3 separate regions of the Homo sapiens genome follow, and all the other regions are linked to region 2. The links are contacts of gene promoters, found by promoter capture Hi-C in blood cells and fetal thymus (Javierre and others, 2016). All regions are on one chromosome and are shown on one strand. Each heading gives the region's core, a stretch centred on a gene start or on the middle of the fragment in contact. The rest is flanking DNA. Distances are from core to core; before and after follow the strand shown. Region 1 holds the start of ITGA5 (integrin subunit alpha 5). Region 2 has its middle 7.7 kb from the start of MIR3198-2. Region 3 holds the start of HOXC6 (homeobox C6).

Region 1 (3,623 bases), core at 883-3,382, 200 kb after region 2:
AGGGATGAGAGAGCTAGGTCCTGTTTTAGAAGAGGACTTTAGGGACTACAGGATCAGGCCAGGGGCCAGACAGACACCTAGGGGACCAGGAATGTGTGAAGTCCAGATGTTTTAGAGGAGTGTTTTAAAGGGAAATTTAGGGGAGGGGGGAGTAAAGAGAAGGTTAAATGCCAGACAACTAGATACTCTGATCTGCGGGAGGAGACCTCATCCCCTTCCTCCTTCCCTCTTTTCTACTCCATTAGGGCTGTGATAAGAAGTTTGAGGGAACCTGGGGGAGACCAGGCCTGGCAGAGGCTCCAGGCCAGGGTGATGATGCAATGGGGTTTGGGCAAAAGGCCAGGGGGGTGGGGTGGGGGTTGGGTGGGGACCTTGAATAGCCCAGAACAACAGTCGGGGCCTAATCATTTTTCTTTTCTCCCATCCCCAAGTCCTCCAGACAAAGGAGAATTTGCCTTTCTCCCCAGTTGTATTAGCTAGATTAACCCCTTTTCTCCAAAAACTATAGGGACTGAGTAGAGATCAGTTAACTGTCTCATGTGTAAAAACAGGTCGCTTCTGACAGAATTCCCCTCAAACCCTGAGATCCTGGGGTTGGGGTGGGGGTGAGCAGTAGGAAGCTCCCAGCTCAGAGATGTAGAAGAAAAAGGATTACACCAGTCATTGTGGAGGACCAGGAATCTGGCATCTATGGCCTAGCCCAGGAGCAACCACCTACCTCTCTTGCTTCCCAATCTCCCCGCCATCCCACATTTAAACAGACACCCTTGGTTCTAATGTTGCTTCCACTCTAACTCCTGTTTCCCAAGCCTGTCAGTACCCCATTTTCTAGGCACTCGGGGTCCGGGTCTGCTTATCACTGTGCTGAGTTGGGAATAAGGATCCTCCTTTGAGATTTCCAGGGTCCTGAGTCCTTCATTCTGACGTTCTTGGCCCCACGGAGCCCCCGTCTCCCCAGCTTCCGACCCCAGCCCCAGAAGTCCCGGTCTCAGCACAGCTCCAGCCGACCAGCTACAGGAAACCAGCTTTTCTCTTCCTCCCAAGAGCCAGAGGAAGAGGGAAACCGCCCACCCCCCTTCACGCGCGCACACACCCCTCCCGACACATCCCAGCACCCGCCCTTGGCTGAGTTCGCCCCCAGCCCCAGGGCCCCAGTGCCAGGGTCCCCGCACTCGCCCCCAGTTCTCGGATCCCCTCGCCTGAACAGAGATTGGGGGCGGAGGGAGGAGTAGGAGACAGAGGAGAAAGGAGAGGGAGCCGCCGTCCTCTCTCGGGTCTTTCCCCGGTCTGAGTTGAGGGGGGAGGGGAGGATGAGGCTGGCCCCCATTTAACCTTCCGACCCCCTCAGTCTTTGACTTTCCTCCTACTACACGTAGCTCATTCGGCTTCTACCCGTTCTCTCGCCGCACAATGGCCCCTACGGATCCCGAGGTCTCCTGGAGCCCCCAAAAGCCCTTCCCGGCCTCTGCGCCCCCTCTGCGCCCCCACCCGCCCCAGGTCCCAGCAGCCCACAGACTTCAGCCAGAGACCCTCAGCTCTCCATTCACGCGCTCTCCTCTCCCTTGGCCCGGAGACCCCTGCCCAGACTTCTCCAGCTCCGTGTCCTCTCCCCACCGGACACATGTCTCCCCACTGATCTCAAACGCCAGGGCCCCTCCTCACCCGCCACGGTGCCCTCCCTACTCCAGCGCGGGCCCCCAACTCTAGCCAGGGCCCCCAACTGCAGCTCTATTCCTTACAAACTCCACCCTCAAACTTAAGCCCTGGTCCCCTCCAGACCCCAGCCGCGCCCCCAGTCTCCAGGCGGCTCCCCCACCCCCATCCCGTCTCCAGCCCTCCTCACTCACCCGTCTGTTCCCGGCCGGTAAAACTCCACTGAGAATCCGAAGAAGGAGCCCGGGGGCCCCGAGAGTACTGCTGGGGCCTCCGCGTCTAAGTTGAAGCCCCCGACCCTGGGTGGCGGCGGCAGCAGCAGCAACAGCAGCGGCAGCAGCGGGGGTCGGCGCCGGGGGCCCCAGCGCAGCTGCACGGCGTGGAGAGGGGACTCTGGCGTCCGGCTCCCCATAGCGCCCGCTCTTCCCTGTCCTGGGGCCACCGACCCGGAGCCGCTTCCTAAACCTCCCAGAGGCGAATGACTCAACGCGGGGAGGAGTTTGCCAAACTCCCGGCTGAGCCCTCCCCCCGCCTGCCGAGGGGGCTGGCGGGGGGGCATTCCTGGGTCCCTGGAACTCTGAGCCCGCGTCCCCCACCCCTAAGGGGCGTGGGGGGGGGGCGCACCCCTCCAACCCCCTTTCCCCAGCCCCAGCTGGAAGCCGGTTGTCTGGACTGGGTTAGACTGGGCGGGTTTGGGTTCTTCCCCCTCCTCTCTGCTTCCCCCTCCTTCCTCCCCATTCCTTTCCAGATGTACAACGTAAACGCTCGGAAAACGAGTCGGAAAAGGGAGCGGAGAATTTCCTAATGAGGAAAGGAATCACCTCTGGTGGGCGGAGGAAGCCTGTATATGTGTGTGGGGTCTCCCTCAGTGCTTTAGGGAGGAGACTTTGGGGTCTAAAGAGACAGGAGACTCCTCTGGCGTCCGGCCAACTGGGATTCCCCCTTGCCTTCCGGGGCCGCCGGGTGCCTGGGTTCTGGCCAGCTGGATTTGGGACACAACAGTTGAGGTACAGAGACAGCGTTCGCAGTCAGCTTGCTAGAGGACCTACACGGGCTCCTCAAGTTCCGCTGCTTCCTCCTCCAAGCTTGCTAGTATTGAAAACCCAGGAGTTTGGGGTCATTCATCAGGAGGATTCTGCTCCAGTTTGCCCCCTTCTTGGTCCTAGGGTATGTAAACCTCTGCTGAGCCCCTTCCTTGGATCTGACAGTTGACCAAAAGCCTGCGAGTGGCTGGCCCCTCAGTACCTGCTTGATTAAACTGGCCGGGTTCCTACAAACCTGGAGAATTGTGAGAGGTGGTGGTGGTGGTGGAAAGTCTTGCAAAGGGACCCAACCTTCAGCTCCTAATGGCTGTAAACGCTGGGAGCTCTGGCCAGGCACGGTGGCTCACACCTGTAATCCCAGCACTTTGGGATGCCGAGGTGAGCAGATCACCTGAGGCCAGGAGTTCAAGACCAGCCTGGCCAACATGGCAAAACCCATCTCCACTAAAAATACAAAAATTATCCAGATGTGGTGGTCCGCACCTGTAATCCCAGCTACTCGGGAAGCTGAGGCAGGATAATTACTTGAACCCAGGAGGCAGAGACTGCAATGAGCCGCGATTGCACCACTGCACTCTAGCCTGGGTGACAGAGCAAGACTGTATCCAAAAAAAAAAAAAAAAAAAAAATCCAAAAACCAAAAACCAAAAAAACAATGGGAGCGGAAAGCCAGGACCCCATTCTTCCCAGATTCCCCTGTGGAAGTAGAGGAAGGGACTCTAGAAAGGGAAGGCAGTGACCCCCTGCCCACCTCTTCCCCAAGCTCAGGCTCTGTGTGATGAGATCACTTTTCAGGATTCTAGCCTTTATCTTAGTCTGGGGGAGGGGACTACAAGTCCTTTCAGTCTCTTTCCTCCAGGACTCCTCACTTTCCAGAATAATACCCTGTCAATAATATCCTGTCAACCCTGTCCCTTCTGTTCTCCA
Region 2 (3,648 bases), core at 360-2,859:
TGGCCAGAAAGTCTGGGCAGTGAAGTCTTACTAACCATTATTAGTGTTTTTGGTGAGTTTCACACTGTGGGTGACGATGGAGACAAGTCCAAGTAGGAGGTGAGAGGGCTGGGGATTCCACCGTGCCTCTCTAAATGTCACATCATGTCTTTTTTGGTGGGGTAGGGGACAGACATTTAGGCTGGAGTGCAGTGGTATGATCTGGGCTCACTGCAGCCTCAACCTCTTCAGCTCAAGTGACCCTCTCACCTCAGCCTCCCAAGTAGCTAGGACTATAGGTGCGCTCCACAACGACCAGCAAATTTTTTAATTTTTTGTAAAGATGTCTTGCTAGTTGCCCAGGCTGGTCTCAAACTCCTGGCCTCAGCAATCTTCCCCAGCCTCGCAAAGTGCTGATACTATAGGGATGAGCCACCATACCTGGCCTCATGTCATTCTTTAAATAATTTTCACTTTCTTGTTCACTGTTCATCCTTCAGAAAGTCTATAATGACCATGTCCCAGCACAAACTATGTTTTAGACTATGAGCTCTGGAAGGCAGGGATGACATGTAACTCCATTAAAAGCTCTTTGCATACTATCCTCTGGGAACAGATGTTTAATGAAGGTTTTTTTTTGTTGCTGTAAATGATGAGATGATGTGGTCAATGGAGTTAATAATAGTGACCATGAAGGAAGTGTGATCATGATCAAGTTAATGATGATAACAGTAAGGGCACTGATCAGTGGTGACAATGACAGCATTGGTGAAAAATGAAGCAAGTGGGAACCATGACTTGACCACTGATTCATCCCACAATTATTTAATAAGCATCTGCTATATGCTACACACTCAGCCAGGAATTGAAGATCCACAGATGAAGTAGAAATGGACTCTGTCCACAGGAATTCGCAGTTTATTTTATAATACAGATGAGGCATAAGAGGTTGTGAAAGCACCAAAGAGAGAATGAGTAATTTTACTTGGAGGAACCCATGAAGGCATCAGGGAGGAAGAGACCAAAATATGCAGAGTGGATTGTGGGAGCAGAGGCATTGAAATCCAAGAGACCAGCTTGTTGGGGCTTGGAGCATAGTTCTGTGAAATTCTGGGAGGGATAAGGAGAATAGAAGTGGAGGAAAATGCAGTAAAGGCAGGTCTGGGGCAGACTTTGAAGGGTCTGCATTTGAGGAGTTTCCAGGATTCTCAGGAGGAGGTAGCAAAGGGCAAGTGGATACAGAGAGAACAGTGATACAGTCAAGGCCCAGAGATATCGGTGTGGGGGGTCATAAGTCCATAAGTAATGGTTGAAATAATGAAAGTATAGAAGCTATTTTAGAAGATGGGAACAAACTGGGGTAAGAACAACAGCTGAGGCCGGGCATGGTGGCTCACACCTGTAATCCCAGCACTTTGGGAGGCCGAGGCGGGGGGGATCACGAGATCATGAGATCGAGACCATCCTGGCTAACACGGTGAAACCCTGTCTCTACTAAAAATACAAAAAATTAGCCAGGCGTGGTGGCGGGTGCCTGTAGTCTCAGCTACTCAGGAGGCTGAGGCAGGAGAATGGCTTGAACCCGGGAGGCGGAGCTTGCAGTGAGCCAAGATCGCGCCACTGCACTCCAGCCTGGGCGACAGAGCGAGACTCCATCTCAAAAAAAAAAAAAAAACAACTGAGAATGGAACACTGGAACCACTACTGTTTCAAAGGTATGAGACTAACACGAAGTGGCCAGGGGGCCCTCCAGACCACGGATACTGGTAGAATCCATACACAGTACATTGATACTTCTTTTTTTTTTTTTTAAGAGACAAGATCTTACTCTGTTGCCCAAGCTGGAGTGCACTGGTATAAACAACGCTTACTGCAGCCCCAACCTCCCCGGTTCAAGCGATCCTCCCACCTCAGCTCTCTGAGTAGCTGGGACTATAGGCATGCACCACTACAATCAGCTAATTTTTGTGTTATTTGTAGAGATGGGGGTACGTACCACCTTGATGCCCAAGGTGGTCTCGAACTCCTGGGCTCAAATGATCCTCATGCCTCGGCCTCCCAAAGTGTTGGGATTATTATAGGCGTGAGCCACCACCCCCAGCCCAGAACTGTTTTTTATGTTAAGTGAAAAAAAGTGCAAAATAGGGACGGGCACAGTGGCTCATGTCTGTAATCCCAACACTGGTCCAGGCAGGAGGATCTCTTGAGCACAGGAGTTCCAGGCCAGCCTGGGCAACATAGGGAGGCCCCATCTCTTTTTTTTTTTTTTTTTTTTTTTTTTTGAGACGGAGTCTCGCTCTGTCCCCCAGGCTGGAGTGCAGTGGCGCGATCTTGGCTCACTGCAAGCTCTGCCTTCCAGGTTCATGCCATTCTCCTGCCTCAGCCTCCCAAGTAGCTGGGACTATAGGCGCCCACCACCACGCCCAACTAGTTTTTTATATTTTTAGTAGAGTGGGGTTTCACCGTGTTAGCCAGGATGGTCTCGATCTCCTGACCTTGTGATCTGCCCGCCTTGGCCTCCCAAAGTGCTGGGATTACAGGCGTCCCAGCCAGGGAGGCCCCATCTCTTAGGAAAAAAAAAAAAAAAAAGCAGGGCATGGTGGCACGCATCTGTAGTCCCAGCTACTTGGGAGGGAGGCTTAGCCCAGGATGTGGAAAGATCGCTTGAGTCTGGGAGGTCGAGGCGGCAGTGAGCTGTGATCATGCCACTGCACTCCAGCCTGAGAGACAGAGTGAGACCCTATCTCAGAAAATAATAATACAAAATGGTACACACACTATGTAAAAACGGGATTTTGTTTCATATGGACAAAAATCTGGTCAAGCACACAAATGTAAAAATATGTCATATTAACATCATAGGATTATAGTTTTCCCAATGTCTACTTTTGTCAATTTTTTGCTATGATTACAATAAAAAGATAAAATACTTTGTGAAAAATGAAATAATTATCCCATATTTGAGCTGAGTCCCCTTAGGAAACTGATACCCAGAGAGGGGAATTAATTTAGCCAATATTACTCAACCTTGTGAATAACAAAGCCAGACTTAAATTCTTACCTAAGGATTTTGCCCAGTGCCTGGGCTGTTCCGAGGTGGTATATTGGTTAATTCGGGAGTGATGCCAGTTGTGAGCTTATTGTTTCCTAGCTTCTCTCAATCCATACATAACTGCGACTCTCTTTGTGCCCTCAGAATTCCAACCTGCTTGTTGCTCTTCCAATAGCATGGGGTCTGTACAGCTATTCTGGTACAGGTCTAAGAGTAGCTTTTCATTTACCTCCATTAATGATTTCTTCCTTTTGGCCCAGAGAAGTCCACAAAGCACCTTCCAAAGCCCCTTCCAAGTGCCTTTCAATCACATTCATAAATGATTTGGGGATTATCTACCGCCTTGAATTATTTAGGCCATTGCTTCCCCTCCATTAAAGTGACTCAACTTGGACTCAGTGAAATTTAATATATTCAAATGAAGACAAAAATGTATTCAGAGAGTTATATTCAAATGAATATAGCCTTCCAACTTATATACACACAGACCTGCCATTTCCTTGTGGAGTAAAGGGGGCTGTCTGTCCCATCTCTTCTTTGAAGATAGCAACAGTTATTCAATTGAGATCTCTAATGAGGATTGGGGAATCCTTACCTGCGGCTACCTGCACTGCCAT
Region 3 (3,697 bases), core at 927-3,426, 200 kb before region 2:
AGAGTACTCCTGCCTTGTTGTCTCTCCCCCACCTCTTGCCCTCCAGGGGGCCTGAAGCCTCAGCCAGCTGTTGGAAACCTCTGCTCAGGCATGCCATGAATTCGAGGACAGCTGGATTCTAGGGCAAAAAGCAACTCACATTGGTGTCTATGTTTGTGTACCTGCCAAGTCACCCCAAAAATGAGATAACTCATCTAAAATTTTTTTTCTTAATTTAAAAATCCTCCTCTACCCTTTCCCCTTCATTTCCTTGGGGAGAAGAAAGTGTGATCTAGAAGGAGGAACCTTTATAATTATAGGAGTCTTTCCCCTTCCCTTCCAAATACCGACAAATTTCTGTCCTTTCTGGAGGATTGGGGCTGTATTTTCTAAAACCAACACAAATTGTCTGGCAGGAAGACTCTTCAACCCCCTAACGAGGTTCATGTATTAACTAACATGTTGTCTCCACCAGCTCCTGCACACTGTCTGCTTTTGGGTTCGAAACTTTATTTTTCCCCCCTAGCGACACTCCAGGGAAACCTTAACGTTACAGAAGATGAATAAACGAGTTTTTTCTCAGCATAGTCCCGTTTATGGCTTTATTGCTACCCATTGATTACTCCGCTTTGTTACACAGAAGGAAAAGATCATAAAATCCGGCGACATCCGGGTTCTTGTTATAGCCAGCTTTCCCCCCCCCCAACCCACCCAAAAATGGTGGGGGGGGGGGGATATGAGCTTTCTCTGCTCCCCGCACACTCCCCACCACCCTTCTTTGTCAACTCAAGGCATTTTCAGCCTATATCACGATATCAAATTAAGTTTGGACTAATCAGGAGAAAACCCCCATCTGCACACTTTCCGCTGTTTCAGTTCGCCTACTGCGGCTCCCTCACAAGCCTCGGATTCAGCTGCCTTTTCGTAACCGTCTCTTCCCTTTTTTTAGCCCCAAGATGGGGGAATAAAATGGGCGTTGAGGTTGCTGAGAGGCCCATCCCCACCACGGGTGACTGGCACTTGGGTGAGAGCTCCTTAGAACCCCTTTCTGAAGTCTCCAAGCCTCATAGCTCAGGTCCAGGGGCGCCTCCACTGGCGGTGCCCTGAGTCTGGAGGGGGCAGGGGGGCTTCTGACCAAGGCAGGGGCTTGAGCCTGCAGGAAGCTAACTGTCCATCAGAGCCCCACCAGCCTTCTCTTTCTGGCTGGATCCTATGTGAATTACCCCACAGGCCCTCACTGGCTCCAAATAATAAATTCTCACCAACATAAACAGGAGTTGATGTCTCTAGAAAGATTCTCAGAGTTTTCGTTCTTCCTCTCTCTCTCTTTCTCTCTGTCTTTCCCCCTCCGGTGCCACCTCCCTACATTTTACTTCTTTTTCTCCTTTTTCTATTGCATTTTTTATACATTTTCCCTTTTAGGCAAAAATGCTGGAAGAGTTTTCCCAACAGAGGGGTCCTGAGAAGGAGGCAGAAGGGAGCCAGGAGGCAAAGGAGAGCAGATGCGTGGCCCATTTGCCCACTCCAGCTCTGCCACTGTACCCTGAAGTCTTGCCCCTTTAGACCTAGTTGTTCCCCACATCCCTACTACATTCAAGACTCTCAGCCACACTCTACTTACTCAGGGGAACAGGTTTTATGAAATTTCTTTCTACTTTTGATTTTTTTTTAATTATTGGTGAAAAAAATACTAGTTTAGTGATGGGACTCACTCCATGGAGTGTCAAAACAGGATTTCCTGCAGGATTTCTAGGGACCCCCCTCCTGTGCTGGGAGGGAGTTCTTCCCTTGGAGAAATCAGGATGTAATTTTAGAAGGGGGCAGATATAAAACATGAAACCAGATTGAAAATACAGGGGTTTCTCTAGCCCTGGCTCTGGCCACAGCACAGCAAAGTTAGCTGGGGCTGAGAGATTTCCTGGTAGTACAGCTCTCCTTCCCTGAGTCCCAAGGCCCTGCTCAGGGACATGCACCCCTCCTTCACCACCAAACCAGTTCCCTTACATATATATATATATATATATATTTTTTAAAAGAAATCCAAGTCTTACTTTCAAAGCACACACTTAGTCTCAACTAGGGAATCAACAGAAGCAGAAGCGATTTTTTTCCCCCTTCCTGACATCTGGCTTGCGATTGGCTGGGAGGGGGTCAGCTGACTTTGTCATTTTGTCTGTCCTGGATTGGAGCCGTCCCTATAACCATCTAGTTCCGAGTACAAACTGGAGACAGAAATAAATATTAAAGAAATCATAGACCGACCAGGTAAAGGCAAAGGGATGAATTCCTACTTCACTAACCCTTCCTTATCCTGCCACCTCGCCGGGGGCCAGGACGTCCTCCCCAACGTCGCCCTCAATTCCACCGCCTATGATCCAGTGAGGCATTTCTCGACCTATGGAGCGGCCGTTGCCCAGAACCGGATCTACTCGACTCCCTTTTATTCGCCACAGGAGAATGTCGTGTTCAGTTCCAGCCGGGGGCCGTATGACTATGGATCTAATTCCTTTTACCAGGAGAAAGACATGCTCTCAAACTGCAGACAAAACACCTTAGGACATAACACACAGACCTCAATCGCTCAGGATTTTAGTTCTGAGCAGGGCAGGACTGCGCCCCAGGACCAGAAAGCCAGTATCCAGATTTACCCCTGGATGCAGCGAATGAATTCGCACAGTGGTGAGTTTTACAGCTCCGAGATATAAATTAAATAAACTGAACTGGCTTTATGACCGGCTTCCCTAGAAGAACGGGCGGAGAGAGTTTTTTATGGCCCCATAAAAACAATCACGCTCGTCTCCTCACCGAGACAGGGCCCCCTCTTCTGCCCCCTCAGCTCGCCTCTCGCTCGCTTGCAGGGGCCTGGCCCCCTTGGCCCCTGACGGATTGGAGGGCCCCAAGGCGGGCTGAGGGGGCAGGAACAGGGCAGGGGATGAGGGGAGGGAGCAGAAGATAGGGGAGCCCCCCAAAGTGGAGTCAGTCTGAGGAGAAGGGAGGGGGAGAGGAGAGGCAGATAAGTGGGGAGAAGTTTCCAAGGAACTAGGATGCTTGGGGAGATGGGGGAGCCCAGTCCTTGAGAAAGGGGGCCCTCATCCCCATTATCTGGGATTTTTCAAAAATCTGCTTTTAGACTTGCAGCTTTCTGTTTGCCTTTTGCCCCGCCCCCCCGCCCCCCCCCCCACCACACACCTTTCTTTGGGACACACAGGTCCCACCTTATAGGAGGTCTGAAGTTGGGGTCCTCGCTGTACCCCCAGTGGGGGTGGGGCAAGGCAAAAGGGAGAAGGCTAGAGCCCTAAGGAGGCTGTGAGCTGCTGGCCAGGTTGGGAGGGTCAGGACTTTGCTAGGCGAAACAGTCTGCAGAGGACGCTTTGCTGATTGCTTTTAGTGTGTTTTGTGCCCGGATCTTTAGGGGTCGGCTACGGAGCGGACCGGAGGCGCGGCCGCCAGATCTACTCGCGGTACCAGACCCTGGAACTGGAGAAGGAATTTCACTTCAATCGCTACCTAACGCGGCGCCGGCGCATCGAGATCGCCAACGCGCTTTGCCTGACCGAGCGACAGATCAAAATCTGGTTCCAGAACCGCCGGATGAAGTGGAAAAAAGAATCTAATCTCACATCCACTCTCTCGGGGGGCGGCGGAGGGGCCACCGCCGACAGCCTGGGCGGAAAAGAGGAAAAGCGGGAAGAGACAGAAGAGGAGAAGCAGAAAGAGT

The links. Contacts are between HindIII fragments. The CHiCAGO score rates a contact against its expected background, and 5 or more counts as called.
Region 1: a contact is called between the fragment with the promoter of ITGA5 here and a fragment that was not itself captured in region 2, in 1 of 17 cell types (monocytes). The highest score is 5.6, in monocytes.
Region 3: a contact is called between the fragment with the promoter of HOXC6 here and a fragment that was not itself captured in region 2, in 3 of 17 cell types (naive CD8 T cells, naive B cells and naive CD4 T cells). The highest score is 7.0, in naive CD8 T cells.

Annotation. Positions count from the first base shown.
Region 1 is chr12:54,417,134-54,420,756 of GRCh38, forward strand. It overlaps ITGA5 (integrin subunit alpha 5), which reads right to left and starts at 2,133. Exons shown (of 30, transcript NM_002205.5): 1 at 1,848-2,133. The coding sequence starts at 2,065. The region is part of intron 2 of GPR84-AS1 (GPR84, ZNF385A, ITGA5 and GTSF1 antisense RNA 1); the gene reads left to right. The HindIII fragment of the contact is 3,058 bases long and covers 1-2,736 here.
Region 2 is chr12:54,221,947-54,225,594 of GRCh38, forward strand. No RefSeq gene overlaps it. Among named protein-coding and RNA genes, the nearest start is that of MIR3198-2, 7.7 kb to the right of the region's middle. The HindIII fragment of the contact is 5,474 bases long and covers 1-3,648 here.
Region 3 is chr12:54,026,264-54,029,960 of GRCh38, forward strand. HOXC6 (homeobox C6) reads left to right here and starts at 2,177. Exons shown (of 2, transcript NM_004503.4): 1 at 2,177-2,658; 2 at 3,392-3,697. The coding sequence starts at 2,259. It also overlaps a transcript of HOXC4 not described here and a transcript of HOXC5 not described here. The HindIII fragment of the contact is 15,214 bases long and covers 1-3,697 here.